Linked DNA regions of Homo sapiens: all the other regions are linked to region 1. The links are contacts of gene promoters, found by promoter capture Hi-C in blood cells and fetal thymus (Javierre and others, 2016). All regions are on one chromosome and are shown on one strand. Each heading gives the region's core, a stretch centred on a gene start or on the middle of the fragment in contact. The rest is flanking DNA. Distances are from core to core; before and after follow the strand shown. Region 1 holds the start of ACSL3 (acyl-CoA synthetase long chain family member 3). Region 2 holds the start of CUL3 (cullin 3). Region 3 holds the start of MRPL44 (mitochondrial ribosomal protein L44). Region 4 overlaps WDFY1 (WD repeat and FYVE domain containing 1). Region 5 overlaps WDFY1 (WD repeat and FYVE domain containing 1). Region 6 overlaps WDFY1 (WD repeat and FYVE domain containing 1).

Evidence for each region. The method cuts DNA at HindIII sites, captures the fragments that hold promoters and counts their contacts. A CHiCAGO score of 5 or more calls a contact.
Region 2: a contact is called between a fragment that was not itself captured here and the fragment with the promoter of ACSL3 in region 1, in 1 of 17 cell types (fetal thymus). The highest score is 5.3, in fetal thymus.
Region 3: the fragment with the promoter of MRPL44 here is called in contact with the fragment with the promoter of ACSL3 in region 1 in 4 of 17 cell types (naive CD8 T cells, naive CD4 T cells, fetal thymus and 1 more); the score reaches 7.3 in naive CD8 T cells.
Region 4: a fragment that was not itself captured here is called in contact with the fragment with the promoter of ACSL3 in region 1 in 1 of 17 cell types (M0 macrophages); the score reaches 5.1 in M0 macrophages.
Region 5: a fragment that was not itself captured here is called in contact with the fragment with the promoter of ACSL3 in region 1 in 1 of 17 cell types (M0 macrophages); the score reaches 5.1 in M0 macrophages.
Region 6: a contact is called between a fragment that was not itself captured here and the fragment with the promoter of ACSL3 in region 1, in 1 of 17 cell types (M0 macrophages). The highest score is 7.1, in M0 macrophages.

Annotation. Positions count from the first base shown.
Region 1 is chr2:222,858,880-222,864,030 of GRCh38, reverse strand. ACSL3 (acyl-CoA synthetase long chain family member 3) reads right to left here and starts at 2,995. Exons shown (of 17, transcript NM_004457.5): 1 at 2,773-2,995. RefSeq lists silencers at 2,500-2,869, 2,940-3,269 and an enhancer at 2,986-3,280. The HindIII fragment of the contact is 2,380 bases long and covers 1,185-3,564 here.
Region 2 is chr2:224,584,337-224,589,487 of GRCh38, reverse strand. CUL3 (cullin 3) reads left to right here and starts at 4,125. Exons shown (of 16, transcript NM_003590.5): 1 at 4,125-4,544. The coding sequence starts at 4,479. RefSeq lists silencers at 3,652-4,071, 4,402-4,661. The HindIII fragment of the contact is 1,243 bases long and covers 1,505-2,747 here.
Region 3 is chr2:223,954,430-223,959,580 of GRCh38, reverse strand. It overlaps MRPL44 (mitochondrial ribosomal protein L44), which reads right to left and starts at 2,118. Exons shown (of 4, transcript NM_022915.5): 1 at 1,930-2,118; 2 at 1-47. The coding sequence starts at 2,108. RefSeq lists an enhancer at 2,034-2,203 and a silencer at 2,274-2,343. The HindIII fragment of the contact is 10,687 bases long and covers 9-5,151 here.
Region 4 is chr2:223,938,201-223,943,351 of GRCh38, reverse strand. The region is part of intron 1 of WDFY1 (WD repeat and FYVE domain containing 1); the gene reads left to right. LOC124907989 (a long non-coding RNA gene) reads right to left here and starts at 128. Exons shown (of 2, transcript XR_007088100.1): 1 at 1-128. The HindIII fragment of the contact is 3,092 bases long and covers 1,569-4,660 here.
Region 5 is chr2:223,910,367-223,915,517 of GRCh38, reverse strand. It overlaps WDFY1 (WD repeat and FYVE domain containing 1), which reads left to right. Exons shown (of 12, transcript NM_020830.5): 3 at 3,192-3,265. Among named protein-coding and RNA genes, the nearest start is that of WDFY1, 32 kb to the left of the region's middle. The HindIII fragment of the contact is 1,128 bases long and covers 1,817-2,944 here.
Region 6 is chr2:223,888,772-223,893,922 of GRCh38, reverse strand. The region is part of intron 8 of WDFY1 (WD repeat and FYVE domain containing 1); the gene reads left to right. Among named protein-coding and RNA genes, the nearest start is that of AP1S3, 54 kb to the right of the region's middle. The HindIII fragment of the contact is 1,440 bases long and covers 1,885-3,324 here.

The DNA.
Region 1 (5,151 bases), core at 1,746-4,245:
ATATATGGCTCTTAAAAGGATCAGATGAGATATGCTAGCACTTTGAAAAAAAAAAACCTTAAATTTGAGTATTAGTATACATTAACTGAAATCTCTTTGAAAGCAGTAACTTTGGCAAGTTCATCTTTTTTATTTATGCCACATGGTACCCCTAGGACGGTGTTTTGCATGCAGATGGCCATTAAGTAAATATATTGCAATGTATTATTTGAATTGGCTTCATACATGTTCAACTGAGACATTTATATATTTTTAACAATCTATATTTCCCAATCCAGCCATCAAAAAATGATCTCCTAAGATGATGAGACTTTTAAGTTAAATGACCCTGTGAAGCGTATGCTACAATGGATACTTTTGAGTCATTATGATGCTCGTTGTTTTAAAAGCCTATCACCCTTGGCCTAGCTTTCCTAAAAAAAATCTAAATCCAATATTCAAGCCCAAATCTCACATAAAAGAGTCTTACTCCCCCTTACAGTTCATTTTGAGTGGGAGAAAGTATTAGAGGACTATTTAAGCTTTAAGTACCCTGAAGGCAGACAGAATGACAACTTGTAAAGTTGCCTATCTCATTTTCGTATCTTGCAATGAGAGCCGGGATGACATTCTGAGTATGAAATACACTGTGCAATGAAAAGAATTATTGTTGCTGACAACTTCCCAAACTCTTGCATTATGTACATAATTGCAGGCTCAGATTTCAAGACTGTCCTCTAGCAAAATCTCACCACATCAATTCAAAAAACAGCTCCCTAGACTAGATTTCCATCTACATCACAATCTTGCTCATAATCCTCATTCACACAATACTTTTCCTTCATCGTACCTATCAAACTTGCAACCACCTATCCGTTTGTATGACCATTTGCTTCTTGTCTATTTTTCCCTCTATTCACAGCTGTATTCCCAGCACCTAATAAGGTGCCTGACATATCACAAAAATTAAATGGCTCTAGGTGAGTCAATTAATCAAATGAGGAATGAAACAGTCACTTAACTGGAACCAAACAGCAGGGAAACACAAAAGCAAATGAAACAGACCTCGAGGCTTTAAGATCTGATTCTCACCCCAAACCAGACAGAGGATGATTTTCCCCTTATAATTTGTGCGTTCTTCATTTCTCCCATTCTTCCTTTCTTCCTTCAAGGAGAACATTTTAGACCCTCAGAATATTTAAGCTTTAAGTCACTGAGTCTAAAGCCTTACAAATTCAGTAACTGAGATCCAAAGATACGAGGTGACTTGTCACCTTGACCCTTAGGTCCAATGGACCACTCTGCCCCACACCCAATGTCATCCTACAAAACCAATATTTTTATACAAAAGAGAAACCAGGAAAAGTCTAGAGAGAAAACGCATGCGACAATTAGAAGGCTTACTCATCCCCAAGTGTGAGGAACTGCCCAGAAAAATGCCAGAAAACAAAATCAAGTCTGTGCAAAAGATTCCCATGTCACACCACCTGTCCCCTATAATACCCTTCTAATACACTTTCAGGAGCAACTCATCAGCACCCTTAACTCTCAGAACTAATTTGGGGAAACAAAATAGGTTGATAAACATGAAAGAAGGTATCATCAAACTACAACTCTCCTGGCCACCCAGACTAAAATCCACTGTGGAAACTATTCAGCCAGCCACCAAGGAGAGGCAGCAAAATATAGTGCTTAGATTTCAGAGCTCTGGATTTACACAGGCCTGTCTGAATCCCAGCTTCTTACTAGCTGAGATCTGAGGCAAGCTAAGTCGTCCAATCTGCAGTTTCTCCCGCTGTAAAATGGGAATAACCCCCACCCCAGAGGACTGTTAACAGTGTGAAGACACTGTACATAAAGCTCTCCAAACAGTGCGTGGCATGTAATAAAAGCTCAATAAATGTCAGCTATTTGTCATTCTTTTCAGCTATAATTTCGTTCACAAAGCCTACTGCCTTTCTAGCTTCCATATAATTTTAAAGACATTCCTCCAGCCTTTTCATTTTCGAGGGATCTTTTATACAGCAGCTTAGAGCACACTTTCTAGTATCAGACTTCCTGCGAAAACCATTTGAAAACCTGTGCCTCGGGCTCCTCATCTGTGAAACGAGCCTGATAACACCTACCCCACAGGACTGCTGGTAGTAAGCAGTCCCCGAGTTACCCAACCTATCAACAGTATATGATTAAAACGCACTTGGGGAAAAGCAAAGCTGCAACTCTCAAACCCCAAACGACAGTCTTAATCCCAGTCCCACCACCACGATAGTGCCCAGAACCAATCACCAAGGTCGACCCACCTCACGCACCTAGTTTCTTCTCACCCCACGCAGCAACAGCCCCTCCCGCCCCGCCAAACAAGGGTTTTCCGAAATCGCAGGGCTGAGTCTCCTTCCACGGACACCGCACTGCTGGGGCCGCGGCAGAGCCCTCTTAATTCAAGGGGGTGGCCTCCCCACCCCGCCCCACAGCGCCGGGAGGCACGCAGTGCATCCTCCCTGCCTGGTCAGCGCCGCCCCACGCCGTTCGCGCTGCAGCTCCCGGCTCGCGTGGGCTCAGGGCCGAGGCCCCACGTCAGCCGCTTCCCGGACCCCAGCGGGCCGCCTCCCACCCTGCTCGCCGCTGCTCCTGGTGCCGCGGGCCGCCCGCGCGCACACCCAGCGGTCAGGTGCGGCGCCGACGACAGGGTCCCAGGCCCCGAGGCTGGGGAGCCCCTCGGGCCCAGCCGAACCGCACGCGGAGGCCGCGCCGCCAACCGGCTCCCGCCGCTCCCACAACCGGCGCCGCACTCACCGCTACGCCGGAGTCCGGGTTCCTCCGGCCTCGGGCCCGCGCAGGCCTGGCTGAGCCCCAGAGCGTTCACGCCCCGCGCCGCCGCCCGGGGATCCTGGCGCAGCTGTCGGGGCCGCAATGCGAGGGGACGAACGTATGCGACCCCGTCCAACGCCTCCTCGTCCCGGCCCCGGCCGCGTAGACAACTGCAGTGTCGCAGCCCGGCGCAGCCACAGCAGCGTCTGTTGAGCGGAACCGCCTGGGACGCTCACCCCCGGCCGGCACTCGTTGCCTATGCAGAGAGGCTGCCACCCATTGGCCCGCGAGCGGTGGCGCGTGCGGGGCTGGGCCTATCGAATTCGGGCCGGGGAGCGCGGCGCTGGCGGCCCGGGGCGGGGCGAGGTTACTACGGGTCATTCCGCGGAGCCGCCGCGGACCGGACCTGGCTGCAGTCTGCGCGGGGCGGGGGCGGGAACGGGGTCGACCAGGAGGGACGGACCGCGGGTGGGGGAGGGGAGCGGGGATCTGCGGCAGCGACGTGGGAGGAGCGGCTAGCCCAATAGGGTCTGCAGGAGCTCCGTCCCTCCAGGAAAAAACACCCCTCCACCAAAAAAAAAAAAAAAAAAATTACAGTCGCACAATTATTGCTGTAATGTATAAATTTCAATATAAATTATGAAATAGTATGCATATTCTTTTTCGTTTTTAACTGGATTAGTTATCCCGTTCTTGCAGAAATTGCTGTCAAATCCTGCCAAATAAAATGGCTTTTGGAACTGCCTGGGGCAAGAAGAGCCTCAAAAACTCAAAGCTTATCCATTATCATTTCTCTTGTTTTGGCCTCACTTGACCTAGCATATAACCCGTTTTCCTCTAAATGCACTCACCATGCAAATTTGCTATTTCTTTTCAAAAAATAAAGTTTACTCCAAATTATTGTTTTTGAACGTTCTTAGGAATCCACAGTGGTTCTGTATTTTAAGGAGTTTGCCATTGTTTCTCGTTTTAGACACTAAACAAGGATAAGAAAGAAAGCATCCAGTGCAGGTAGTAGAACTACATGTACTGTAAGAGAGAAGATTTTCACTCACCCAGTACTAGTAGGATTGGTCTCTTTTTTTAACCCAACATATTGTTTAGTTTGCCTGTGAACTTTTCCTTAAGTAGGTGAAAGGTTGCCTTCCTGAGCCAGCCTCAGGCTAAAGCAGGCCTCATTTCCCAAGAGAATCAAAATCAGGAAGCCGCCAGAACTTGAACTAGGTGGAGCGATGATGCACCAAGCAAAGAGAGCTCACTCACCGTGGGCCAAGGGCCAATCGAGAACCTAAAGGGATGGATACCTGACTCAGGCAAACTGTTCTCCCACTTCAAAATATGGCAGTTCAGTTGCTCATTAATCTGTTGAAATCTTATCAAAGGATACATCCTGAAGATAAATGGAATGCAGAATTTCTTATCTGAAAAGACATTCGCAGCTCTGCAGAGAGAAGCAGGCTTTAGAAGTAGTACTTCTAGAACCATGAAATCCTCTGGAAAATACTGGTTTTTTTCCGAGAGAAGAAAACTAATATTGCACCTTTTTATCTATCCATAAGCCTAAAACAGACTAGAAGAATTCCAACAATATCTTTCTTCATTATCTTTATATTATGGAATATATATTATGGATATGGACCTATATTTAAAAGAAAATGGTCCTGGGAATTAAAATTCTAAATTCTCATCTTGTTTGCTGTTTAACAAGCTAAGTAGAAATACATAGAGATACTTCAGAGACATTGTGGGTTTGGTTCCAGACCACTGACACTTAAAGGGAATATCAAAATTAAGTGAGTCACATGAATTGTTTGGTTTCCCAGTAAATATAAAAGTTATGTTCGCCGGGAGCGGTGGCTCACGCCTGTAATCCCAGCACTTTAGGAAGCCAAGGCAGGCGGATCACCTGAGGTCAGGAGTTCGAGACCAGCCTGACCAATATGATGAAACCCTGTCTCTACTAAAAATACAAAAATTAGCCAGGCGTGGTGGCATGCGCCTGTAATCCCAACTACTCGGGAGGCTGAGACAGGAGATCGCTTGAACCTGGGAGGCGAAGGTTGCAGTGAGCCGAGATCGTGCCATTGCACTCCAGCCTGGGCAACAAGAGTGAACTGCATCTCAAAAAAAAAAAAAAAGTTATGTTCATACTATAAAGCGTGCAATAGCATTATATTTAACAAAACAATGTACATATCTTAATTTAAAAATACTTTATTGCAAAAAAAATGCTGGCAATCACCTGAGTCTTCAGCAAGTTGTAATCTTTTTTGCTGGAGGAGGGTCTCACCTCAGGGTTGATGGCTGCTAACTGATCAAGGTGATGGTTGCTGAAGGTGGGGATGGCTGTAACAATTCCTTAAA
Region 2 (5,151 bases), core at 877-3,376, 1.7 Mb before region 1:
TGTCCCCTAGAGGTTTCTTGATACATTTACTGTTACAATGGTATTAATAAGAAGAAATTCTTTTTCTTTGAAATAAGATTACATAGAAGCCATGCCTATATTTTTAAATTGAGAATCTATATTATGTTCAATTGGGTTAGTTGGTTGTATAGATATTTTTATTTACAAAATGTTAATTTATTGGGTACATGTGGAATAAACAGACTGTCCAAGCCAACCAGAACATTTCCAGAGCTGCCAGGGAGATGATTTTCTTTTGTATGACCATATGATGAAATACTGAGATGGATTTTTATGATATAATCAGACATTTAACATTTTTTAGTTTAAGATGTAACGTCTCATATGCTTATGTGTCTCATATGCTTCTTGTCTCAATAATATAAGAAAAATTTTAAGGACACAGTAGAAAAGTTGCATGGAGAAGGCCTACAGTTTTCACATATTTAAGCATCTGTGGTTATGTTCTCAATGGGGTATTTGCCGACAATGTCATCTTATAATGCACATACACATGCTACTACCCTAAATATATACAACTCCATATCTAATGGCCTATAATACTTATTAGTTGCCTGGTAGAGACAAGAAAGTAGAAGATCTAGCCCTTCCATTCCAAGAGCTGATAATATCTATACATCTTTGCCTTCCAACTTAAAAACATTTTCTCTCTCTTAACATAGTCTTGGTCTACTCAAAACCATTGAACGGGTCTTTCAAATTGAAATTGTAGGCTTTGAGCTGTTTTAACAACCAATATCTGTACAATAAAATCAGCAGATCTGAAACATTGATTAAAGTGACTTGGTATCCCGAGTACCTAGAAACTGATGGTCAAGAAGAGGCTATTACTTCCTTTTACCAGCTCCTCACATCTTATATTGCTCTTTCACAGACTGGGATGTAGAAAAGGGGCTGGCCCACCCAACTGCCTGATCTCTCTGAATGCATGTGCTCCATATGCATAAATGGAAAGAATAAATGGAAATGAGGCCACTGTTTTCCTGTGTCAGGACACTGTCAGCATGAGTAGGAATACCAATCGCCAGCCATGCAAGATCTAGTGAGTTCCTATTCCAGTGCTGCTTTCTCTGCTAGATCAGGTGGCAGTTTGCAGAAAAGCAACATCCTGAAAGTTTATTTGCTATTTGCAAGTCAGGGAATATGACTGGGCACAGAAAAATAATCTACTGCTGCTTCAGAAAGTATTTCATAGACATTCTGAGGATGTTGCTTCCACAGGAAGGAAAATATCTGATTTCAGAACTGAAGCATATACAAAGTTGGGGCCAAATCCAATATGGGTCTGTGGTTTACAAACTGTGAGATGTGAAAAAGGATGTGATGGCAGGTCCCATCTGTCTCATTCACCCTAGTTCCTGACATACAGTAGCCATTCAATAATAATTATTGAATAAATGAATAACTGAACAAATAAATGAGCAGACTTCTTAATGACAAAATCATTTTGAAGCATTTTTCTGATCCTTGGTGGTTAAAAGCTTAAGGGAAGACACAGTTCACAGTGATGCTTTTAGACGCAGCTAAATTTTGGTTAAGCAACACCAATATACGAAAATCTGGGTTCACAAAGCAAATACATTACAGTTACTATACTTACTATATGCTTTACAATTAAGTAGAAACATACCTTAATGTAGTGGGTTTCTAAATGCTGGCCCATGATGTCTCCTTAGGTTCACAGTGAAATAAGAAAAATTCGTGTGACGTATTGTTCATTACGAGGCTGTTCAATTCAAGGAACTGTCCTTTATTCAAAAATGGATCTTCCCTCATTTCTGAGGTTAAAATACTTTTTAATAAATGATGGGAATAATCTATGCTAGTTGTTCCTTTTTAATACCCTTGCCAATATAAAGTTGCCAAATCTATAATGACTCCCTAGCTTATCAGAAAATATTTTATTAGTCTGAGAGATCCAAATGTCGGAGACTGGCTTAGTTTCAAAATATGACTCATTTTATAAAAGCATACAAGTGTTTTTTGTTGTTGTTGTTTAGAAACCTACCTATTGAATAAAGGAAGTAGTATAACCTTGGCTTTAATGCCCATGTTAATAACAGCCAACAGGTGGTAAGTTGCTGCTCCATGCCCAGTTCTCAGGGCTCTTTAAAACGTATTCATCTATTTAAATTTCACGGTAGCCCAAGGAGGAAGTATTGTTATTGTCTCCCTTTTACAGATGAGAAATTCTGGGGATTGTCAACTCCATGCCCCAAAAGATGCAAAACACAGCTAGTAAAGTGGCAGAATTGAGATTCAAACAATGGCTCCAAGAACACATATTCTTTTTTAAAATATTTTTTTATTTCTTTTTTTGGTTCCTCAGAGATCCCTATTCTGAACATATATTCTTACATTACAAAGAAACTGGGCCATATGAGAGTACAACCAAGAGAAAAACATTGTTTGTTATTATATTATGTTATGGAAATGGAGGTTCAATTAGCATAGAGATTATAAACTCCTATTCAAGGCTGACATTATCTTACATTGAAGTCAGAGCCTCTCCCAATCTTAGTTTATCAACTCAGTTCTTGATAACCTATTTTTAGCTTCAGTATTTACAGATATTGTCTTAAGCAACATTCTTGTTTCTTAAGCTCCTGCTTTAATTAGCCAATACCAAAAAACTCCCACAAAAAAAAAAAAAAAACAAGAAAATATGGTATTTGCAGTGGGGCGTTTTAAGCAAGAAGGGGCTTTAAGCACAACACTCATAAGCTTAGTCATCAGGATTAAGTTAATTTAGGGCAAATTCAACCTTACAGTCAACAAATAAGTGTATTTCACTTTATATTGTTTGCTATTTAAAAGTATTAAAATTCCAGCTTCTAAATGTAGATATCCATCCCCCAAACATATGCTTCTTTAAAATAGGAAGAACACAAACTTTAATAAGAACTCACGTATTCCCTTGCAGAGTCAGAAACCCAAACATAACAGCAATTGGGCAAGTAGGTAAATGAGGAAGTACAATTCATAACAAATGGACAGCAAAACCGATAAGTCAAATTAGACATTTTGACTATAAAGCGACCAAACGCCTCTCCTCCAAAACCAAAAGCCAAAACCTTTTCAAATATACAGCAACTGAATCAGACGGTAATTTTGGCTTTAAAAATCTACAATACTCTTGGTAATGGTAGAAATGATTTATCCGGTAGGTTAAAGATAGGTTTCTATCATTCCACTTAACATTATTTACCAAATGCTGCATTTCATTAATGGAGCTGTCAGTTTATTCTGATGGTAATGAAAAACAGGTTTTAACATGAATAAGCCCTGGGTCCACCAGAAAATATCAGTGAATCAAGAGGTCCCGAAGCTTATGCAGTTTAAGGGAACTTCGTAGATTAAATTTCCACCTTCCAGTCCTGAGAGCTGTGGTGTGCACACCCAGTCCGAATACCTTGTTGAGCATACAGGACACTAATTTCCGACACTGCAGCTAACTCCTGCACAAACTCTTCAAGTTGCAGGCTTCTACTCAAGTACCCATCCCTAGTCCACATGCCCTAGAAAAACACAGGAACCAGTTCGGGACGTAGTTACACATCTAGCACCCCACGCTCCTCCTCAAGACTATCCTCCTGCTGTCCCAGCCCAGTGGGGCCCAGCCCACTACCATCCCGCTCCCGCTCTCCGAACTTCCCCCCTCCCACTCCCCACCATGTGACCAGGACCCTCCCAACCGCCGCTCCGAGCTCCACCAATCAGCAACCACCTCCACCCAGAACCCGGGACCTGGCGCTCCACTTTCAAAAAGGCAGCTTAATCCTCCCGCCCTCAGCCACGCCCCCTTTCCGCTTCCCCGCCCCGCCGGCCCCTCCCACTTCCTTCAGTTCCCTGTTCCCCTCCTCCCCTCCGGTGGCGCCCACCCTCTCCCGGGCTTCGCCCCGCCCACCAGGGGGGCAGCGCGCTCGCCCTCTTCTCGCGAGATCTGAGCGTCCCCCGCGGCGGCCGCCGGGCTCCCCCTCCCGTCCTCCCACCTCCCTCCCCCGGCATCTCTCACTCTCCGGCTCTCCTCCCTCCCTCCTCCCCCCTCCACCCTCTGGGCCGGATCTCGTCTCGCTCAGGCGGAGGAGGAGAAGGAGGAGGAGGAGGACGACGTTCGGCCTGCGCAGTGAGATGTTTGTCCGTCGCCGCCGCCGCCGCCATCGCGGAGGAGCGCGATAAAGGGAGCCGAGCCGGACGTGAGGGGGACCCCGCGGAGCCGCCGCGCCAGCGCAGCCCCCCAGCCGCATCGGAGTCGCCAGAGTCCGAGCCGCCGCCGCCGCCGCCGCCGCCCCCGCCGCCGCCGCGGCTGCCCAGGGGCCGGCCAGCTCCCCAGCCCTGCCCGGGGGTCGCGCCGCCGCCGCCCCCAGCGTCGCCCCTAGCCTGCCTGCCCGCCTTAAATGTGACACCGGCGTCGCGGAGCGCGACCTGAAGCCGCCGCCGGGGAGGGGACGAGCACCATGTCGAATCTGAGCAAAGGCACGGGCAGCCGGAAGGACACCAAGATGCGGATCCGGGCCTTTCCGGTGAGTCTCTCCTCGGCGTCCGGGACCCCGGGGCCGGGGGCCGGGCCGAGAGCCGCACGCGAGGCCCGGGCTGAAGTCCCCCAACAGGCCGCAGGCCCGGCCTCCCCTCCCCCACGCCCGCCGGCCGCGGGGCGCGAGCCTTCCCGGCAACCGGGCGGCGCGGGGCCCCGGCGCGGCCGCCCTCCCGGGCCGTTCCCCGCGCCGGGAGCCCGGGCCTGGCGCCGCGCCCCCGTCCGGGAGCTGCTCCTTCAGCCGCTCCGCGGGCGTCGGCTGCGGCCGGGGCCCCTCGGCCGCCCCACGCCTCCCCACGTTGCCGGGGTTGTAGGCCCAGTCTCCGGCGCTGCTAGCAGCCGCGGAGTCCTCCCTGTGTGGGGCGTGTGTGGAACTTTTCACGTGGGGTTTCGCTACACTTTGAAAATTTACCCAGCCTAGCTTTTAGGGTGATGAAGGGGCTGCCCTCTCTCTCTGCCCCCCTCCCCAGGAAGGTCTATGCCATCAACCTGCCCCCGACGCAGTGACAGTGGTTCCACGGAATGCTCCGTGGTCATAAACTAGTAACATTGGGTGTATTTATAGCGTCTTTCATCCTACAAGCTTCCTAAGCACT
Region 3 (5,151 bases), core at 869-3,368, 1.1 Mb before region 1:
CAAAAGCTTGTATTTCTGCATGGTAATCCCAGTTCGGCTTCTCTGAACTGAAAATGTAAAGACAGTAAGAGATGGTAAAGAGAACAACCTGTTACTGTGATATAAAAATTGTTCACTGTGTTGTAATGTTATTAATTATATAAAGGAAATGAAAGAAGGTTATATTTCTTTTTAATGCCAGGTTGATATTCTAAATGTTAAGACTAAAGTCAGATAAATACTGGCAGTCCTTTGCTATATTCTACATATATGACTGGATTAATTTTCCCTTTGATCCAATTGTCACATGAAATTGGTTCTTCAATATAAAAGACCAAGCCATTAGCCTAACTTTTAGGTTCCTTATTTCTGCTCTAACCATGATACTATGTTTTATACCTAAGTATGAAGCATAAATGTTAATTTCACAGATTCAAGCCATAAACACTAGTATGTTATATTTGCAGTCATCCCTCAATATCTGTAGGGGATTGGTTCCAAGGACTCTCCTGGATACTGAAATTCATGGATGCTCAAGTCTCTCATATAAATGGTGTAGTACAGGCACACTTCGTTTCACTGTACTTCGGTCTATTGTGCTTCACAGATTTATTGCATTTTATTTTTACAAACTGAAGGTCTGTAGCAATTCTGCATGTGCTCACTTTGTGTCTCTGTGTTACCATTTTTTAGCAATAAAGTATTTTAAATTAAGGTACATATATTGCTTTTTAGACACTACTACTGTACACTTAATAAACTACAGAATAGTATAAACATAACTTAGGTATACACTGGGAAACTAAAAAAGTCATGTGACTCGTTTTATTGTCGTGGTCTAGAACCAACCCTACAATATGTATGAGGTATACCTGTATCTGCATATAACCTATGCACATCCTCCTGTATACTTTAAGTCATCTCTGGATTACTTATACGTAACACAATATAAAACCCCTTTAAGAAACAAAGGGAAGCAAAGTATGAAAACCTAGGTTGAAAGTCGTAAGATATACATATAACATATACACCTATATAATCTGTCCAACCCATAAAGTTTCTTCCACCTTTGAGAGCCTAAAATACTTAATCTTATAATAAACAAGGGAATGGGAATTAAGAAGAGATTTTATTTTTTGCTATAATCTTCTCTGTTAGAAGACCGTTCCTACTGGTAGGAGTACAAAGTGGATCAACATTTTTTGGAGGGCAATGTTAAAGTACTAATAGCTTTCAAAATTTCATACTACACATGCGTCCCCTTTACGCGCTGTTACATAGGTTTTAATGGCAATAATATGGAGCTCATAGGCCCATATATACAGAGCCATAAAAAAGAGTGAGGTACATATCTTTGTAATACCATGACAACATGTCAAACACACATTATTAAAGAGAAAAAGCAAGATGAAGGAATTTAAATTATGTAAAGTATGATCTGGTTTGAAGCTATAAAAACCTGTGTCTCTCTCTGCCAAACCTGTTACCAGAACAGCATTAATTAGGGCAAAAATCTAAAGCTAACTTTTTTTCCTTTTACTCTAGACAGCAGAATTCAGGTTGTAGATTAATTTTTTTTCTCCTTAATTTACGATGCTGTGGGCTGCTTTCTTCCCGCTTATCGGAATTCTCAGGCATTACAAACGGGGACTACAACATCCAAGTCCACATAAGGAAGACCCTCCAGTTAGCCCCATTTCTCCCAATTTTCAGTAGCCAAAATCCTAAATGGTAGTTTCAAAACGTCGGGAACAGCCCGAAGCTCTACCGCCCGCGGCACAAATCCATTTTTTTTGCCTCAGGCCCCGCGCCCACAGCTCACGGGTGTCTCCATCGCAAACTTCCTAAGGCTTAACCCAGGGGCGCATCAGCCGCAGACACGACGCCGCGGGAAGAAGACCCAGTGTCTGCGACCGCCACCCTGAGACCTCTTCCCGAGGTGGCTCCTACCGGCGCACGGGCGGCGGCGGGCACCGCAGAAGGCGCTGCCGCTCTAACTCCTTCTGGAAGCGGAAGGCGGCGCGGAATCCCTTCTTCACTCCCCGAACCGGAGGGACCAGCTTGGGGGCGACTGGAGCCAGGAGGCAGCGATGTCCCTGCTGCAGCAATCTTACCAGCCCGGACGCCATTGCACGAGAGAAAACGATGGAAGACGGAACGAAAGTAGTCGGGCCAGTGTCCCCGTAACACACTTCCCCCGGAACCCGGAACGCGGAACGCGAAGAGAAGGCTGGGGCGGAGACAGCCCCCGGGGCGGGGCGACTGAGAGAGGGCAGGGGCGGAGACAGCCCCGGGGCGGGGTGATTGCGGCCGCCTTGAGGCTACGCTTGCGCTAGTTCTCTCCTCTCTTCGAGTTACTTTCCAATGATCCGGACTTGAGGGCGTTTGCGCCCAAAAGTTTCTGGGAGAAGTTGCTTCACCCTGTCACTCTCTTGTTCCTTCCTCTCTCGTTACAGCAAAACAAACAAAAATCTGTTTCGCTTTCAGGTTAAGGAAACATTTAAATCCTCAAAAAAAGAAAACATTTTTAATTTATATTTAGTGTTCTAGGCCACTACTGAGCAAGTATTTACCGAGCTTCTATTTTTGACCCAGCACGCCTCCAAAAGCCTTAGTTTTGGAAACCCTAGACTCAGAAATGTTGGCTTATCCAAAATTAAAATTTTTCTTTAAAAGCAATCTAATAGTACATATTTTTAAACATCCGGAAAATGACTGGAAAAAAACATAAAACGGTAATAGGGGAATTACAGTTTCTTCCTTCTTTATGTTAACACTCTTTAACAATGTAATTCTATTGCTTTCCTACCAAACTGTTAATACAGTACAATTTTTAAAAGAACATATTAAGTCACAAAGGGAGGCTTGTTTGAATTCCCAGTTTTGAGTTGCCTGCTGAACATCTAGACCCTCAAAGGGGCAATGCTTTCTGTGATCTCTTTGTTAAAGGCATCTGTGTCCCCAGCAGTCACCCAGATTGAACTCCTATGTCTTTGATTGTTTTTGTTTCGACAAACCCCCTCTTCGGTGCAGTTTCCACCAAGTGCTTTTTCCATTTATTTCCACTGCAGGTACCTGGTGGCTCTCCTCACCTCTTTCCGTGGTTAGTGTAATTGGCCTGGTACCTTCCTCCCTTCCCCAGACACAGCTCACCTACATTCATCTCTCTGAAACACAGACCACAAAGCATGTTATGACTTAGCCCGAGAATCTTCAGTGCCAGGATCATAGAACTCAATTTGGGTTTCTCAGCTTGACCATTTCAAAAGGGAGAATCTAAATGGTTCATCTCAGCTTATAAAAGGGTTCCCTTTGGGGAGGGAGAGAGCAAAAGAGGGGCTGAGCACACACCAAAAAACAAACTGATGGATTTCTGGTTGAAGGAAATTCTCCAAGAAGGGGTGAAAGGAGGTTACGATTGACCTTCTTGTTTCAATGTATGTAAAGTATTGAAAATTCATGGAACATCAATCCAATAAATGGATTAGGAGAAAATGCAGGGAACTGTCATTTCTGTAGAATTTCATTTATTAGGAAAAATAATCTAAGCCAGTTGTAGCACAATCATGTTAAGTTAAAATGAGGTGTCTCTGTGTTGAGAGTTTCTCAGTCATACAACAACGAGAGCATCATTTGCAGATTAAAAAAATGTAGGTCCTCAAAAGATTTCTTCTACTAATGCCCTTCATGGAACTTAGGAATTAACCAGTTTTTTAAAATCTGCTCATACATTTGTCTATTTATTCAATAAACACATAATAGGAGGAGGACTTGGTTCCAGGATCCAGGCTCAGAAAACTTTAAGGAAGAAAAAGGCCAATGTGTTTTTCAGCCCTCAAAAACCTGATTTTTCCTTTAACCTGCTGTTAGCCCTAATTTGATCAAAGCTCACAGATGTCAACAACTTTCGAGTTTTCATTGGGTTAAGGTCAGGTGGAAGGGTGGGGAAAAGTCACACTTAGGAAGAGGAGGTGAGGCGATTGAGGGTTCACTTTAACCCTTGGGGAACACAACCTTTTGTGTTTTGATGCCAGGGATATTGCTTATATATTCCTTCAATGATGGTGAAGGCAGCTGGAATACGGGGCACAGAAAGATGGATAACAAAGTTAGTAAGCTCTGCTATAGGACCTTCCTGAACAATCAAGCAATTCTGAACCACCTGGGATTACTCACCACTACTTCATAGATTAGCTAAGGAATAACTACCAAATAGTGGCCTTTAATCCAACTCACAAGGAAAATTACAGACAGAAATAATTACCATAGAATGAAAATTACTATAGTTAAAACTGTTCAAAATACAAAATTGGAGTTACTGATAAATATCGATATAGAATCAGTCTTCACCAAAGTTACATCTGTTCAACCTAGCTTTGGAAAATTTGACTTGATGGAAAATTTGACTTGATAGATCTAAAAGCTGCAACAGAAAACTCATGATAGTAAAACTGATTAGCAAAAAGCCTTAGTAAACCTGAGCAACAAATAACATCTTAGGAAATAAATGTGGAAAAAAATTCATGAAAATACATTAAGCAATAGAAACATGAAAATACAATTAGAAATAGGATACTTGTGCTGTATAGAAAATTGATCAAGAAATTTAATTGGTTTCATGGAGCTTATTCCAGAAAACATTTTCTCAAAAAAAATGCATCAATGTTAGTATAATTCTGTTATAAACACTTTAATTCATAATTATGGAAGCAAAACTTTTTTGGTGTGTTAGCGGCCAGCAAGATGGCTCTCAACAAGCCCCACCTCCTGGTACTTACACCCTTGTACATTCCCCTCTCACATTGTGCTGGGATTAGTCTGTGTAACCAATAGACCATGGATGTTTTTATCAATTCTGGGGTTAGGTAATAAAATACATCATAGCTTCCATTTTGGTCAGATACCTTGTATTTCTTGGATTAGTCTCCTGTCAGGAAGTCAGCTGCTATGTTATGATGTTGCCTAAGAAACTATGTGGAAAGGCTTATGTGATGAGTAGCTGAGGCCTCCCGCTAACAGCCATGTGAATGAATGAGCTGTCTTAGAATTGGATCCTCCACTCCCAGTCAGACTTTCAGATGACTGCCTACTGGCCAGCGCTTTGACTGCATCCTCATGAGAGACCCTCAGCCAGAATCACCCAGCTAAACTGCTCCCAAACTCCTGGCCCTC
Region 4 (5,151 bases), core at 1,865-4,364, 1.1 Mb before region 1:
GGTTCACCTGTAGCTGACTTCCAACAAGGAGGGGAGTGATTGGCAGGACCTGGCTGTGGGTCTGTAAAGCAGAAAGGAGTGAGAGAGATCGAGTGCATGAGACCTGGGGAGAAGGTGGGGACCTGAAAAAGGCAAGGACAGAATAATGACTTTTTTTTTTTTTTTTTAAGATGGAGGCTTGCTCTGTCACCCAGGCTGGATGGAGTGCAGTGGCATCATCTTGGCTCACTGCAACCTCCGCCTCCCAGGTTCAAGCGATTCTCCTGCCTCAACCTCCTGAGTAGCTGGGACTATAGGCGCCTGCCACCACGCCCAGCTAATTTTTCTATTTTTAGTAGAGACAGGGTTTCACCATGTTGGTCAGGATGGTCTCGATCTCCTGACCTCGTGATCCACCCGCCTTGGCCTCCCGAAGTGTTGGGATTACAAGCATGATCCACTGGTGTCCGGCCAGAATAATGACTCTTGCATGATGTGAACGTAGATGCAGACAACACTCTTTAAAAGTTAGCCTTTGGGCCGGGCGCGGTGGCTCACGCCTGTAATCCCAGCACTTTGGGAGGCCGAGGCGGGTGGATCATGAGGTCAGGAGATCGAGACCATCCTGGCTAACAAGGTGAAACCCCGTCTCTACTAAAAATACAAAAAATTAGCCGGGCGCGGTGGCGGGCGCCTGTAGTCCCAGCTACTGGGGAGGCTGAGGCAGGAGAATGGCGTGAACCCGGGAAGCGGAGCTTGCAGTGAGCCGAGATTGCGCCACTGCAGTCCGCAGTCCGGCCTGGGCGACAGAGCGAGACTCCGTCTCAAAAAAAAAAAAAAAAAAAGTTAGCCTTTGGCCAGGCGCAGTGGCTCATGCCTGTAATCCCAGCACTTTGGGAGGCCGAGGCGGGTGGATAACAAGGTCAGGAGGTCGAGACCATCCTGGCTAACACGGCGAAACCCAGTCTCTACTAAAAATTCAAAAATTAGCCAGGTGTGGTGGCAGGCGCCTGTAGTCCCAGCTACTCGGGAAGCTGAGGCAGGAGAATGGCGTGAACCTGGGAGGCAGAGCTTGCAGTGAGCCAAGATTGTGCCACTGCACTCCAGCCTGGGCGATAGAGCCAGACTCCGTATCAAAAAAAAAAAAAAGTTAGCAGCCTTTATTCGGTCAAATATTTTATTCATGAATCATGCGTTTTGGGTAAGTTGCTAAATATTTGAGATTGCTGGTCAGGAGCAGTGCTGATAAATGTTTTTGGAAAGTGATTACTAAGCTGCTCTGGGACTGAAACGTTCTGGGGGAGCTTGCATCTGCTCACTTTTTCACTCGTGCACCACTGTTATTGCAGAGCCCAGGTAGATGACTGGACCAGGATGGGGTTGGCGTTTGAGGTTTCTGTTGTGTTCAGGCTCTTGCAACTTCCTTGAAGGGAGAACAACCTTTTTAGTAGGTGCTACACTTCATGAGATGTAATGAAAGCACATGGGCGTGGGTTTTTTCTTGGTGTTAGCCATGGTGGTTTGTTTTCACATTGTCATAAATACGTGTCACGTTCTTCACTCATTTACTCATTCATTTAGAAAAAGCTTTTTTATTGAGTGTCAGGCCCTGAGGACACAACAGGGGTCAAAAGCCACACTACCTTGGCCAGGCAAGGTGGCTCACGCCTGTAATCCCAGCACGTGTGTGGGGCCCATGCTAGACCTGTGGGGGAGAGACAGCTGACAGCTAAGTTGCTCTTTCCCAAGGGCTGAACAGTCTAGTGAAGAGATGGCCCCTATGTATTCAGCATCCAGTGCTGGGAAGACACAGGAAGAGGAGGCTCTTTGGGCTGGGGCCGGGGTTTGGGGACAGCCTCCTAGAGAAGGTCGTTGAGCTGGTCTTCATGGATAGAGGAGTGGCATCTAGAAAGGAAGGAGGGATGCACCCTCATCCCAGGCAGAGGAAGGAGGAAAGGACAGGAGGGAATTGTAAGAGGGAAAGAACCATAGCTATTTCTAAGTGACCAGAGCAAAAGGTGGGCAGTGACAATAGCAACAGAGAAGACTGAGAGCTAGAAGGACCCAGTGTCCGGTTTTGTTTTGTTTTTTAAATTAAAAAAAAAAAGTTTTTGGGGGCCAAGTGCGGTGGCTCACGACTGTAATCCCAGCACTTTGGGAGGCCAAGGCAGGCAGATCACCTGAGGTTAGGAGTTCAAGAACAGCCTGGCCAACATGGTGAAACCCCATCTCTACTATAAATACAAAAATTGGCTGGGTGCAGTGGCTCACACTTGTAATTCCAGCACTTTGGGAGGCCGAGGCGGGTGGATCACCTGAGGTCAGGAGTTTGAGACCAGCCTGACCAACATGGAGAAACCCCATCTCTACTAAAAATACAAAATTAGCTGGGCGTGGTGGCACATGCCTGTAATCCCAGCTACTTGGGAGGCTGAGGCAGGAGAATCACTTGAACCCAGGAAGCAGAGGTTGAAGTGAGCCGAGATCATGCCATTGCCCTCCAGCCTGTGCAACAAGAGTGAAACTCTGTCTCAAAAAACAAAAACAAAAAAACCCACAAAAATTAGCTGGGCATGGTGGCACACACCTGTGGTCCCAGCTACTTGGGAGGCTGAGACAGGAGAATCACTTGAACCTGGGAGGCGGAGGTTGCAGTGAGCTGAGATCACGCCACTGCACTCCAGCCTGGGCAACAAGAACAAAACTTTGTCTCAAAAAAAAAAAAAAGAAAGAAATAAGGAATTTGGACCTTATTTTGCAGGCAGTGTAGAACCATCAAAGAGTTCAAAACAAGCAAATGATATGATCGGAATTTGTAATTTAGAAATAACAATAGCTAACCTGTTGAAAGTCCCTTTTCTCTACGAGTACAGAATTGGACCTTATGTGTTATTGGATCCAATCCTCACACTTCCTCCCTATAAGGTAGGTACAGTCACCTTCTCTTATCAGCAGTTCCAAAATTTAGTGCATTCTAAACGTCAGAAGTGTGTATGTGTGTGTGTAAATTGGACCTGAAAACTCGTTTGGTGCTAAAATTTGGCCTGAACAAATGAGACTGTTTGTAATCTTTATTTACTGCATGCATCACAGTGGCATGATCTTGGCTCACTGCAACCTCTGCCTCCCAGGTTCAAGCGATTCTCCTGCTTCAGCCTCCCGAGTAGCTGGGATTACAGGCACCCGCCACCACACCCAGCTAACTTTTGTATTTTTAGTAGAGACAGGGTTTCACCGTCTTGGCCAGGCTGGTCTTGAACTCCAAACCTCGTGATCCACCCGCCTCGGCCTCCCAAAGTACTGGGATTACAGGCATGAGCCAGTAGCTTTTTACATTTAAAGTAGGGTCCAGCTGAAGTGAATTCATTTTACAAACGCTAAAAGCAGTGAGAACTAGCTGAGAGCATTTTGAGAAGAAAAGTGAAAGGTATGAAGGTTTTCCTGAAGTTAGTATCCACTTTTGTAAAATCTAGGCCAGTGGTTCTGGGCCAGGGGTGGTTTTCCCACCCAGGGAACATTTGGTAATATCTGGAGACATTTTTGGTTGTCATGATGTGGGGGAGGTGATATGGTTTGGCTGTGTCCCCACCCAAATCTTATCTTGAATTGTAGCTCCCATAATTCCCATGTGTTGTGGGAGGGACCCAGTGGGAAATAATTGAATCATGAGGGCAGTTTCCCCCATACTGTTCTCGTGGCAGTGAGTAAGTCTCAGGAGATCTGATGGTTTTACAAGGGAAAACCCCTTTGGCTTGGTTCCTATTTCTCTCTTGTCTGCTACCATGTAAGACATGTCTTCTGCCTTCCACCATGATTGTGAGGCTTCCCTAGCCACATGGAACTGTGAGTCCATTGAATCTCATTTTGTTTATAATTACCTAGTTTCTGGCATGTGTTTATCAGCAGTGTGAAAACGGACTAATACTGTATGTAACTAATACTGGCATCTAGGTAGAGGGTAGGGATGCATCTCAGTATCCTGTTATGCCCCACACCAAAGGATTATTGAGCCCCAAATGTCAATAGTGCTGATATTGAGAAACCCCAGTCCGGGCTTCATGTACTTATCTGGCCTCTCTAGAACACTGGTTCCTTAACTTGAATGTGCATCAGAATCACCTGGGGGTCTTGTTGAAATTCGGGTTGCTGGACCCCACCCCCAGAGTTTCTGATTTGGAAAGTCAGGTGGGGCCTGAGAGTTGGCATTTCTGCCAAGTTTCCAGGTGACGTTGATGCTGATGCTGCTAGTCCAGGGACCACACTTAGAACCACGGCTCTACAAGAAAGGAGGGTTATTTGTCACTGTGCTTGCCTATGTACAACCACCAAGAAAGAATACTGAATACAGAAATTAGCCAGGCATGGTAGTGTGCACCTGTAATCCTAGCTACTTGGGAGACTGAGACGGGAGGATCACTTGAGCCCGGTAGGCGGAGGTTGAGGTGAGCTGAGATCGTGCCACTGCACTCCAGCCTGGGTGACAGACCAAAACCCTGTCTCAAAAAAAAAAAAAAAATACTGCTTACATTTTATCCTCTTTTTTTTTGTCACCTTCTGGGATATATTTACCTGGGGTCATTCACAGATAGCCACCTAGTTCACTGTAATCAAACTGCATATGACAAAGCTAGATACGGTCAGCACTCCAAAGAGTATTAAGCCAATGTGGAATATCAAAGCTTAATGCCATTACACCTGGGAGTCACAGGTCATTAGTGGTTTGGGTGGTCAGCTTAGGGTTCTGCTTAGAAACCTTTATGGATTAATGTCTCGTGAATGGTTAATAGAAAATGGTACTACTTCTTGTATGAAGTCATTAGTATTTTGCTGAAGTAATAATTACCTTAAGCTCTTTAATTTAAATTTAAGTTTAAGAATTTGAACTACAGTGGTGACTTTCCTGGTAGGGGAAACAGAAAATAAGACTCTGCTTTCAGAGCGGAACTAAAATGGTGAGACAGTAGGAACCAGTATGTTTGCTTTTTGGACTTTTTTGCTGTGGACTGCACCAAAAATGTAGACAGTCAGTTGATTGAATGATACAATTTTTAAAAGGTAAAAGCTTTATAAAGCCTTATAAATAAGTTAAGGCTATAGGCCTACTGTCTTCACTTTTGAGAAATAGAGTTTGTGGATGGACGTACTTATACTGTTGCATTAGGGGCTCGTAGG
Region 5 (5,151 bases), core at 1,131-3,630, 1.1 Mb before region 1:
ATTTTGTCCCATATTTGGTTCAGTTACTCCTTGACTTGCATTTCCCCCAAATAGTACAACTTTGTAATTAATTTCTCTCCCAGGACACCAAAACCTAGCAGTAGAAATGTGTGTGTTCTCTTGGCTGTTAGATCTCGGGCAAGTGGCAGTGGATCTCTCTGTCTTCAGCCTTTTCTAACTTGGCTTAACTGTCCCCTCCTGAAGGAGCTTCTAGCTCAAGAAGGAGGAACTTGAAAGAACAGACACAGCTTCGCAGTGGGTGGTCGACACCTACATGTTTGTATCTGCACATGTTCAGTGTGTTACTTCTAGATGCTTCTTTATTGCTTCTATTTGGACCTGTATCTGCTGATAAAACTGCAGATACACCACAAGAAGAAAACAGAGTGAATGCATTGTGAGAAATAACTGCATGTCTGTTTTAGAATGACTTTTTATTTCAAAATTAAATTTAGGATACAAAAAGAAGGATGCCATGTTAGTTCTAAAAGCTATCCGCAGATTATCCAATTTAGGATGTCTTAGTGGTTATATCCACCAATTTAAACTTTTTCCTGTGACTTGACAGAGTGATCAATAAGCCAAGCCTTAGTATATTGCTATATGCAGTCCAATTGTGTTCTATAACATTACCTCACATAAAAAAAAAACTTTCAGAATCTGCTTTAGCTGAAGAAAAATGGTAACTCTTGGCTTCTATCTTTACTGTGTACTTCATGCCTTTTTTTGGTAATATAATTTTATGAAACCATCACAACAGCTATGCAAGGCAGATAATATTTTTACCATTTTGTGAATAAGCAAGCTGAGGTTAGAAGGGTTGATTGCTTGTCATTGGAATTCCAATCCATGCTCATCTATGACTCCAAACCTATGCTTCTCACCACAGTGATGGGTAGGTCTACAAACTTTTTATGCAAAGGGCCAGACAGTAAACATTTGGACTATGTGGGCCAATCTCTGTGGCACTTACTCAATTCTGCCTTCCTATCATGCAAGGAGTCATAAACAAGACATAAATATTGCATGTGAGCAATCATAAGTTATATATAAATGTAGCATGCAAGCAATCATAAATGAAAGGGTTTATGTTCCAAAGGAAAAAAAAACTATTTATTAACAAAACATGCAGTCAGCTGAATTTGGCCTTCTGGTGTGATCCAAAGTTTTAAACATTTGATTTTGGACTGCAGTGATGGCTTTTTAAAAGTTCATTGACTTGGCTGGGCATGGTGGCTCATGCCTGTATTCCCAGCACTTTGGGAAGCCGAGGCAGGCTGATCATTTGAGGTCAGGAGTTCGAGACTGGCCTGGCCAACATGGTGAAACCCTGTCTATACTAAAAATACAAGAATTAGCCTGGTGTGGTGGTGGCTGCCTGTAATCCTAGCTACTCAGGAGGCTGAGACAGGAGAATCGCTTGAACCCAAGTGGCGGAGGTTGCAGTGAGCTGAGATTGCGCCACTGCACTCCAGCCTGGGTGACAGCAAGACACCATCTCAAAAAAAAAAAAAAAAAAAAAAAGCTAACTGATTTGAAAGATGATTCCTATTTTGCTTTATATCCAACCCCTCCCCTTCTACATTAAATTTATATTGCTTATCTCAGTTAGAAACCTCCTTTCTAGGGAGAGAGCCAGGATATTACTATATAATACAAAACAAACTAAGGAAGCCTTTTTTTTCTTTTTGAAATGTTATAGTTGTCTAGCTTCATAAAATTACCCAGCACTTTGTAATTTTTACACAAAAGAGGGATTTTACATATTTATGTTGTTTGTTATAGGGTTGGGCATTAAAAAAATTGAAAAGAAGCTTAAAACTAATGCATTTAGTGCCAGCTAGAAAGCAAGCAAAAATGATGACAGTGAATCTCTGAACGCATCAAAGCATGATTTGATTTGTCAAAGATAAGTGTATGCATGGTTTATTAAAGAACATTTTGATTGTATAAAGATATGTATATATATCTTTGTGGTCATAATACTTGATCGTTCTTTTAATCTCAAACATCACTGTGTCAGATAAGGGTATACAGGCTCATAGTCAATTCTAATTGTTTTGTGCACAATTTCAGTACGTACCTTTCAGAGCCAACTACATAGTTCTTGGATGCAACTGAAACAGTCTCTATGGTCTGATCATGCAGTTAGCTATGTTTTTGCTTTGGGGTACGATCCAGTATTATAGTTTACTTCCTTCCTTTGGTGAGGATATCACCCTACTAGAGAGAGAGAACTTTATATTCAAATGGTGACTTCATTTAAAAGACGTTTTTTCTTTTATCTTTTTTTTTTTTTTTTTTTGAGATGGAGTTTCACTGTGTTGTCCAGGCTGATCTCAACTCCTGGCCTCAAGCAATCCTCCTGCCTTGGCCTCCCAAAGTGCTGAGATTACAGGCATGAGCCACCCTACCCACCCGTCTTTTATGAGAAGTTTTATTCCAAAGTGAATTCAAATTTGTTTGTTTTGTTTTGTTTTTCCCTAGCATGCATTTCCTTGTTTTGGTTCTTCCATTGCTAATTAAAATTCCTTAGGCTGAAACAAACCCACATTTTTTTTCCAAATGTTCCAATTTATAAATCACTTTAATTCTAATTTTTGGTAAAAGACAATTTAGAATTTCTCCTTTCTGAAACTCATTCTCTAGCCTGTGATTTCTGGAAGAGGGTAGGGTAGAACATGGAAGGAGGACAAGGAAACCTGTCTGCACTTCACAACTCACATATGCCATATATCTGCACCTCACATATGCTCACTTATGCCATAGAATGGGAATTCTGGTGCTGGGAACCCATCTTTGCACAGCTACTCTTTGACATTTGATGGGAAGGGTGGCAGGGGCGGGATGACCTCCTGAGCTTTTGGGCAGCAGGTCACACACTACAAGCACTGGTCCCCAAGGCTTGCCAGACTACAGGTAGTACTTTCAGTCAGATGAAGCTTCATGCTGGCTCACTTCACCCAGCATTATAGAAACAACTGAGAAGATTTGTGAAATCAAGGTTTTAAACTAAGACAACAGAGAGAACTTTAATAACATTTTCAATTTACGTAATTTGTATAAAACGTTTTTACCCTCTTTCTGTGAACCTAAATTATATAGTTCTTATCATATAGTTCTTAATCACTTTGAAGAACAACTTAAAGTGCTTAGCTTTGCTGGTAATGTGGTCTTTGTCTTTCTGGCAGCTCCTTGCTCTGCTATGGCTTACCATCATGACAGCAGACGGATATTTGTGGGCCAGGATAATGGAGCTGTAATGGTAGGTAGCTTTTAGAATGTATTTATTGTATTCTTTATATTATATTCTTTATATTGACCTCCCATGTCCCATATTGGCCAGTTAACTTTGGATTAACAATGGATGCTCGATTGTTTGGCATGAAAAATGTTTAATTTAGGCCAAGCACAGTGGCTCACATCTGTAATCCCAGCACTTTAGGAGGCTGAGGCGGGCGGATCGCTTGAGCCCAGGAGTTTGAGACCAGCCTGGGTAACATAGTGAGACCTCATCTCAACGAAAAATCAAAAAAATTAATTGGTAGTGGTGCATGCCTGTGGTCCCAGCTGCTTAGGAGACTGAGGTGGGAGGATGGCTTGAGCCCAGGAGGTCAAGGCTGACAGCTAGCTGAGATTGCACCACTGCACTTTCGCCTGGGCAGCAGAGGGAAACCATGTCTCAAAAAAAAAAAAAAAGTTTAATTCAGTATAGATATTAGGTCAAAAATGGATTAAATTATTGCTTAATTTTAAACTAGTTCCTTGGAGCTCAGAATGCTGTCGTAATTGATAGCTGGGTGCTCGGGCTGACCCACAGATCATAGCCTTCATAGAGTGAATACGTCACCTATAGCAGCCCCCATCCCTTAGCCGTGATGGTGGAGAGCCTCTGTCACTCTGTGTGTGTGTGTGTGTGTGTGTGTGTGTGTGTGTGTGTGTGTGTGTGTGGTCATTCAGCTAGCAACTCACAGAACTCTTTAAGGCAATACTTCTCAAACTATCTTTGGCAAAGGACCTGATATTCAAGTTTCTAGTCTGTTATAGACTGGCATTTTTGTGCGTCAAATTGTATGCATACATTTGTTTTTTCTTAATTGAAATATAACTTAAATAACATAATTATATTTACCATTTTAAAGTATATAATTGTGTGGTCTTGTAGCATATTCATAAGATTGTGCAACCATTACCACCATTCTCTAATTCCAGAATATTTTCATCACCCCTCCCTGCAAAAAAATCCCATACCCATTAGCAGTCACTCTCCATTGCCCCTTCCCCCAGCTCCTGGAAATCACTAATTTACTGAATCCAAGGATTTGCCTATTTTAGACACTTTATATAAATAGACTCATACAATATGTGTGGCCTTTTATGTCTGTCTTTCACTTAACATAATGTTTTCAAGGTTCATGCCTGTTTGAATTAATTAATTATTTTTGCAGTGGAATAGCATTCTATACTGCATTTGGTTGATCCGTTTATTAGTTGATAGACATTTGGGTTGTTTTCACTTTTTGGCTATTATCAATAACGTTGCTATGAAAATTCATGTACATGTTTTTGCATGGACATATTTTTTTCTATTCTCTTGGGTATGTATACCTAGGAGTGGAATTGCTGGGTCATATGGTGACTATATTGAACTTGTAAGCAACTATGAAACTGTTTTCCATAGTGGCTGCACCATTTACATTCTCACCAGCAACACGCAAGGTTTCCGGCTCTCCAAATCCTTGCTAACACTTGTTATTTTCTGCTTGTTTTGTTTTGCTTTGTTTTTGTTATGGTCATCCTGGGGGGTGTGAAATGGTACCAGATTGTGGTTTTGATTCGCGTTTTCCTAATGACTAGTGATGTTGAGGATCTTCTTAGGTACTTGTTGGTCATTTATATCTTCTTTGGAGAAATATCTATTGAAGTCCTTTGCCCATTTTTAATAGAGTATTTTTTAATTGTTGAGTTGTAAGAGTTTTTTTCTGTATGTTAGATACTAGACCCTTATCAGATATATGATCTGCAAATATCTTCTCCTAAGAGCTGCCTTTTTACTTTTTTTTTTTTTTTAAGTTTGGTGAAGTCCAATTTATCTTTTTTGTTTTTGGCTACTTAAGCTTTAGATACCATATCTAAGAAACTATTGCCTAA
Region 6 (5,151 bases), core at 1,355-3,854, 1.0 Mb before region 1:
TAGAGGTCCTCCGAAGCACCATTGTGGTCCCGTAGCATTCCTGTAGGAAACCCTGAGAGATGCATCAGTGACTGCTGTCAGGGACATAGCTAAACACTTGACAGGTTTCTGGGAAAATATATTTCCATTTCTCTGCTTTTACTTCCCATTGAGTTCTAGTTCACTGAGGCCATGTCGACATAGTATTCTTTTCAGGTGACCTAATTTCTAACTTGGTTCGGCCACTAACTAGTTGTGAGACCTTATTTGGTTAAGTGCCTTAATTTCTCTAAGTATCTGTTCCCTCCTACATAAAGTGGAATTGTGGAATGAAATGACTTCTCAGTTGTCTTCCAGTTCTTTAGACAGACAGTCTAATTGTCTAAACAATCTCTCTCTCTCTTTTTTTTTTTTGAGACAGGGTCTTGCTTTGTCACCCAGGCTGGAGTGCAGTGGCATGATCTTGGCTCTCTGCAGCCTCAACCTCCCAGGCTTAAGCGATCCTCCCACTTCAGCTTCCTGAGTAGCTGGGGCTACAGGCATACACTACCATGCACAGCTTATTTTTCAATTTTTTTTTTTTTTTTTTGGTAGAGACAGGGTCTTGCTGTATCGTCTAGGCTGGTCTCAAACTCCTGGGCTCAAGCAATCCTCCTGCCTCAGTCTCCCAAATTGCTGGGATTATAGGCATGAGGCACTGTGTACATTCTCTTTTTTAAATATTTTGAAGAATGCTGCAGTGAATATTCTTGACCTTGTCATTGTGTGATTGATCAATTATTTATTTCAGACAAATTTCTGGAAATAGACCTTCTGGGTCCAAGGATATATACATTCTTAAGGCTTTTTATAGATGTCGTCAAATGATTTCCAATCAAGGTTTCCATTCTCATCTCTGCCTGTACTGTCATTATCTTTCTTTTCTAAGTGACATCTACAACTTACGATGTTGTTAGCAAAAAAGTTGATTCCAGAGAAGATTTTAGATCATGAGGGATGTTAATGACTTATAGTTTAACTTCAGAAATATTTGTTGGGCACCTACAGGGTGTCCTTACAGTCGGGAAACTCAAGTGAATGTATTTAATAAATGGCTTATTGATATTGCATTGCAGTACCTACTGTGTTGCATGACATCACATGATCTGTTCAGTATCCTGTCCTTTATGGCAATATGTTGTTCAGTGTGCTGTGCACCATTGTAATAGACATTATGCGTTGATGCAGAATTCCCACCAGTCCCTGCACATGTGTCTGCTTTGTGTTGTCTCTGATTCTTTGTGAGTCTGATTCTCACTGATTAAACCTTCATTTTTAGCATATTCCAGTAGAAGTGATCAAGGGGCTTTCATCTATTTTTTTTTTAAATGGTGACATTACTCATTTCCAGACTTTATGGCTACTGTACACAAAGATACTTGCCCACAAGAAATGTGTAATCTAGTGGAAGAAATAGACTACCCTATAAATAATAAAATGCAATCCATAATACAGAGACGTACTGATTGTGAGATTTTTTGGTAACTTTGTAAGACAAGTCAGATAGAGGAAATTTGGATTACATGTCTGCTGGTTAATTTCTCTTTTTGAATTTTCTAAAAATTATTTGGTAAGGCTTAGAATATTTTATTATTAAACACAGATACATTGGCTCAATAGTATAGGATGTGGCCAGCGCAGTGGCTCATGCCTGTAATCCCAGCGCTTTGGGAGGCTGAGGTGGGTGGATCACCTGAGGTCAGGAGTTGGAGTCCAGCCTGGCCAACATGGTGAAACCCAGTCTCTACTAAAAAATATAAAAATTAGCCAGGCATGGTGGCAGGTGCCTATAATCCCAGCTACTTGGGAGGCTGAGGCAGGAGAATCACTTGAACCCAGGAGGCAGAGGTTGCAGTGAGCCAAGCTTGCACCACTGCGCTCCAACCTGGGCGACGAGCAAAACTCCATCTAAAAAATATGTATATATATATATAAATTATAGGATGCATAATACTATATTTGCAAAGATTTATTCGAACTGTGTTTTACGTTTATCAGCTACTAGTTATATGCAGCAAGAAAAGCTAGTAAACTGTTCTTGGCTCTTGGCCTATTATTTTTCAGTCTTATTCTGAGAGAGCGGAAAACTCAGAGAAAGGCTGTATTCCCTGGATGATGAGGGGAGGAGACTGTTGGTGCCCAGCACTGCTGGTGGCTTTCCCGAGGGTTTCACAACTTAGATTTTAACCTGCTCTTTTTATCGTTGGTAAATTCTTTTAGAAAAAGTACTTAGAAAGTAGAAGTGGGATTCCTACCGTCAAAGTGCATCACTGTGGAGTGTATTTCTCTATCTAGGGAAAGAAAAAATAGTCCCATCAATCAAGGCATTTCCTGTGTGCACAATTCACTGCGTCTGTAGAAGAGACAGGAAGGCAAATTGTGTCAAAAAGATGCATTATTTTTAGTGGGTTTTTTTGTTTGTTTGTTTTTTAATAACTGAGAAAATGTATTGCAAGGATAAACAGGCTATAATCTATAAGGTTCTGACCCTGCCTTAGGATTTTTGGGCTTTTTTTTTTTTTGAGACGGAGTCTAGCTCTGTCACTCAGGCTGGAGTGCAGTGGTGCGATCTCGGCTCACTGCAACCTTCGCATCCTAGTTTCAAGTGATTCTCCCACCTCAGCCTCCCAGGTATCTGGGGTGACAGGCTTATGCCACCATACCTGTACCTGGCTAATATTTTATATTTTTAGTAGAGACAGGGTTTCACCATGTTGACCAGGCTGGTCACGAGCCCCTGACCTCAAGTGATCCGCCCGCCTCAGCTTCCCAAAGTGCTGGGATTACAGGCATGAGCCACCGTGCCTGGCCTTTAGGGTTTTATAGGACTTTCTTAGACCAGGGCATAGAGGATTGATCCCAGATCCTCTAGCTCTGCAATGCTTGCCTGGAATTTCTCTCCAAGTCCCCTGTCAATACTAACTGGAGCATTTACTACCCACTGTGGCTTCAACCACTACGCTGTCGAGTTGGAAGCAGATTTGCTTCCCTGCCAGATCATAATGAGAAGGGATCCTTTTTTGGAAGTAGGCACAAAATATAAATGAGGAAGTAACAATAATTAGAATGAATCTTCTTGAAAAGAGAACTTTATTTTAAAACTAGTAGGTTACAGAATGTATAGCATTTTATATACTAGTGCAGTGTGACGAGTGCAGCAGTTAGTGGCAGTAGAGCAATGGAATTTATTCTTGCCATATCTTTGTTCAGATTTGGCAGGTGCAAAAAGATGGAGAAAAGAGAGTGAAGCAATTATAATAACTGATTAATACTCTCTCTTGCTCTTCTCAGCACAAAACGAAAGCTTCTTCTTAGATAATAAGTATAAGGATGGCTCATGTTAGCTTACAGTGTAATGCTATATTCTGAGTATTAAGTGAAATAAAGTTAGGGGTATCTCTTATATTAAAATATGTTCTAAAAAGCTATTTGTTTCTGATTTTGATTTTAATTTGTTATCTCAAATTTTTTTAAGCATATATTTTTGTCACTGCAACCTCTGCCTCCTGGGCTCAAGCGATTCTCGTGCCTCGGTCACCTGAGTAGCTGGGACTGCAGACATGTGCCACCATGCCTGGCTAATATCTGTATTTCTAGTAGAGACAGGGTTTCACCATGTTGGCCAGGCTGGTCTCGAACTCCTGGCCTCAAGTGATCCACCTGCCTCAGCCTCCCAAAGTGCTGGGATTACAGATGTGAGCAACTGCGCCCAGCCAAAGTAATATTCTTTCTTAAACCTGTAAACAGAATCATGCTCCCTGAGGCAAGAGCTCAGATCTGTAGGTTGCCCTAGCCCAGGACCATGTTTGGAGACCCCCATAGGTAGAAGTGGATAGGCCTCATATACAGAGGCTGTGTGGAGCATAGGGATACACAGAGAGAGGCAGGCTGGACTCCTGGATCTGCCCAGGATCTGCGTGTACTCATTGACAGTTGCTTTAATCTCTGAGCCAGTTTCTTTGCCTGTAAAATAGGGATAGTGTTGCTCGGTATCTCCTAGGACATAATGAAAATTAAGTAGAATAAAAAAACATGAAACACTTGGCACATTGCCTGGACTTAGATGTCACTTATTGTATGCCACGTAGTATTCTGAACACTTCCCAAATATTAACTCACTTAATCCTCACAACCTTATGAGGTATATACTACTGTTATCCCATTTTACAGATGTATTAGTCCATTCTCAGGCTGCTAATAAAGATATGCCTGAGACTGGGTAATTTATAAAGGAAAGAGGTTTAATGGACTTACAATTCCACATGGCTGGGGAGGCGTCACAATCATGGTGGAAGGTGAAGGAGGAGCAAAGTCATGTCTTACATGGAAGGCAAGAGGGCATGTGCAGGGGAACTCCCCTTTGTAAAACCATCAGATATTGTGAGACTTACTCACTACCAGGAGAATAGCATGGGAAAAACCCACCCCCATGATTCAATTACATCCTACTGGGTCCCTCCCATGACACATGGGGATTATTACAATTCTAAGTGAGATGTGGGTAGGGACACAGAGCCAGACCATAACAGTGGATAAGGAAACCTAGGCACAGAGAAGTTGAGTCACGTGCCTGAGGACACTGCTGACAAGTGGCAGAGCCAGGATTGGAAGGCAAGAGATCTGACTCCTAGACTTTGTGACGACTTGCTACGAACCACTTGCTATGAACCACTTGCTATGACTATTAGAAATGAATTGAGAGGCCAGACACCGTGATTCATGCCTGTAATCCCAGCATTTTAGGAGGCTGAGACAGGTGAATCCCCTGAGGTCAGGAGTTCGAGACCAGCCTGGCCAACATGGTGAAATCCCAACCCTACTAAAAATACAAAAAATAGCCAGGCATGGTGGCAGACACCTGTAATCTCAGCTACTTGGGAGGCTGAGGCAGGAGAATCACTTGAACCCAGGAGGCGGAGGTTGCAGTGAGCCAAGATCACGCCATTGCATTCCAGCCTGGGTGACAGAGCGAGGCTCCATCTCAAAAAAAAAAAAAAAAAAAAGAGTTGAGAATTTAGGCCAGGCACGGTGACTCACGCCTGTAATCCCAGCACTTTGGGAGGCTGAGGCGGGCAGATCACTTGAGGTCAGGAGTTTGAGACCAGCCTAACCAACATGGTGAAACCCCATCTC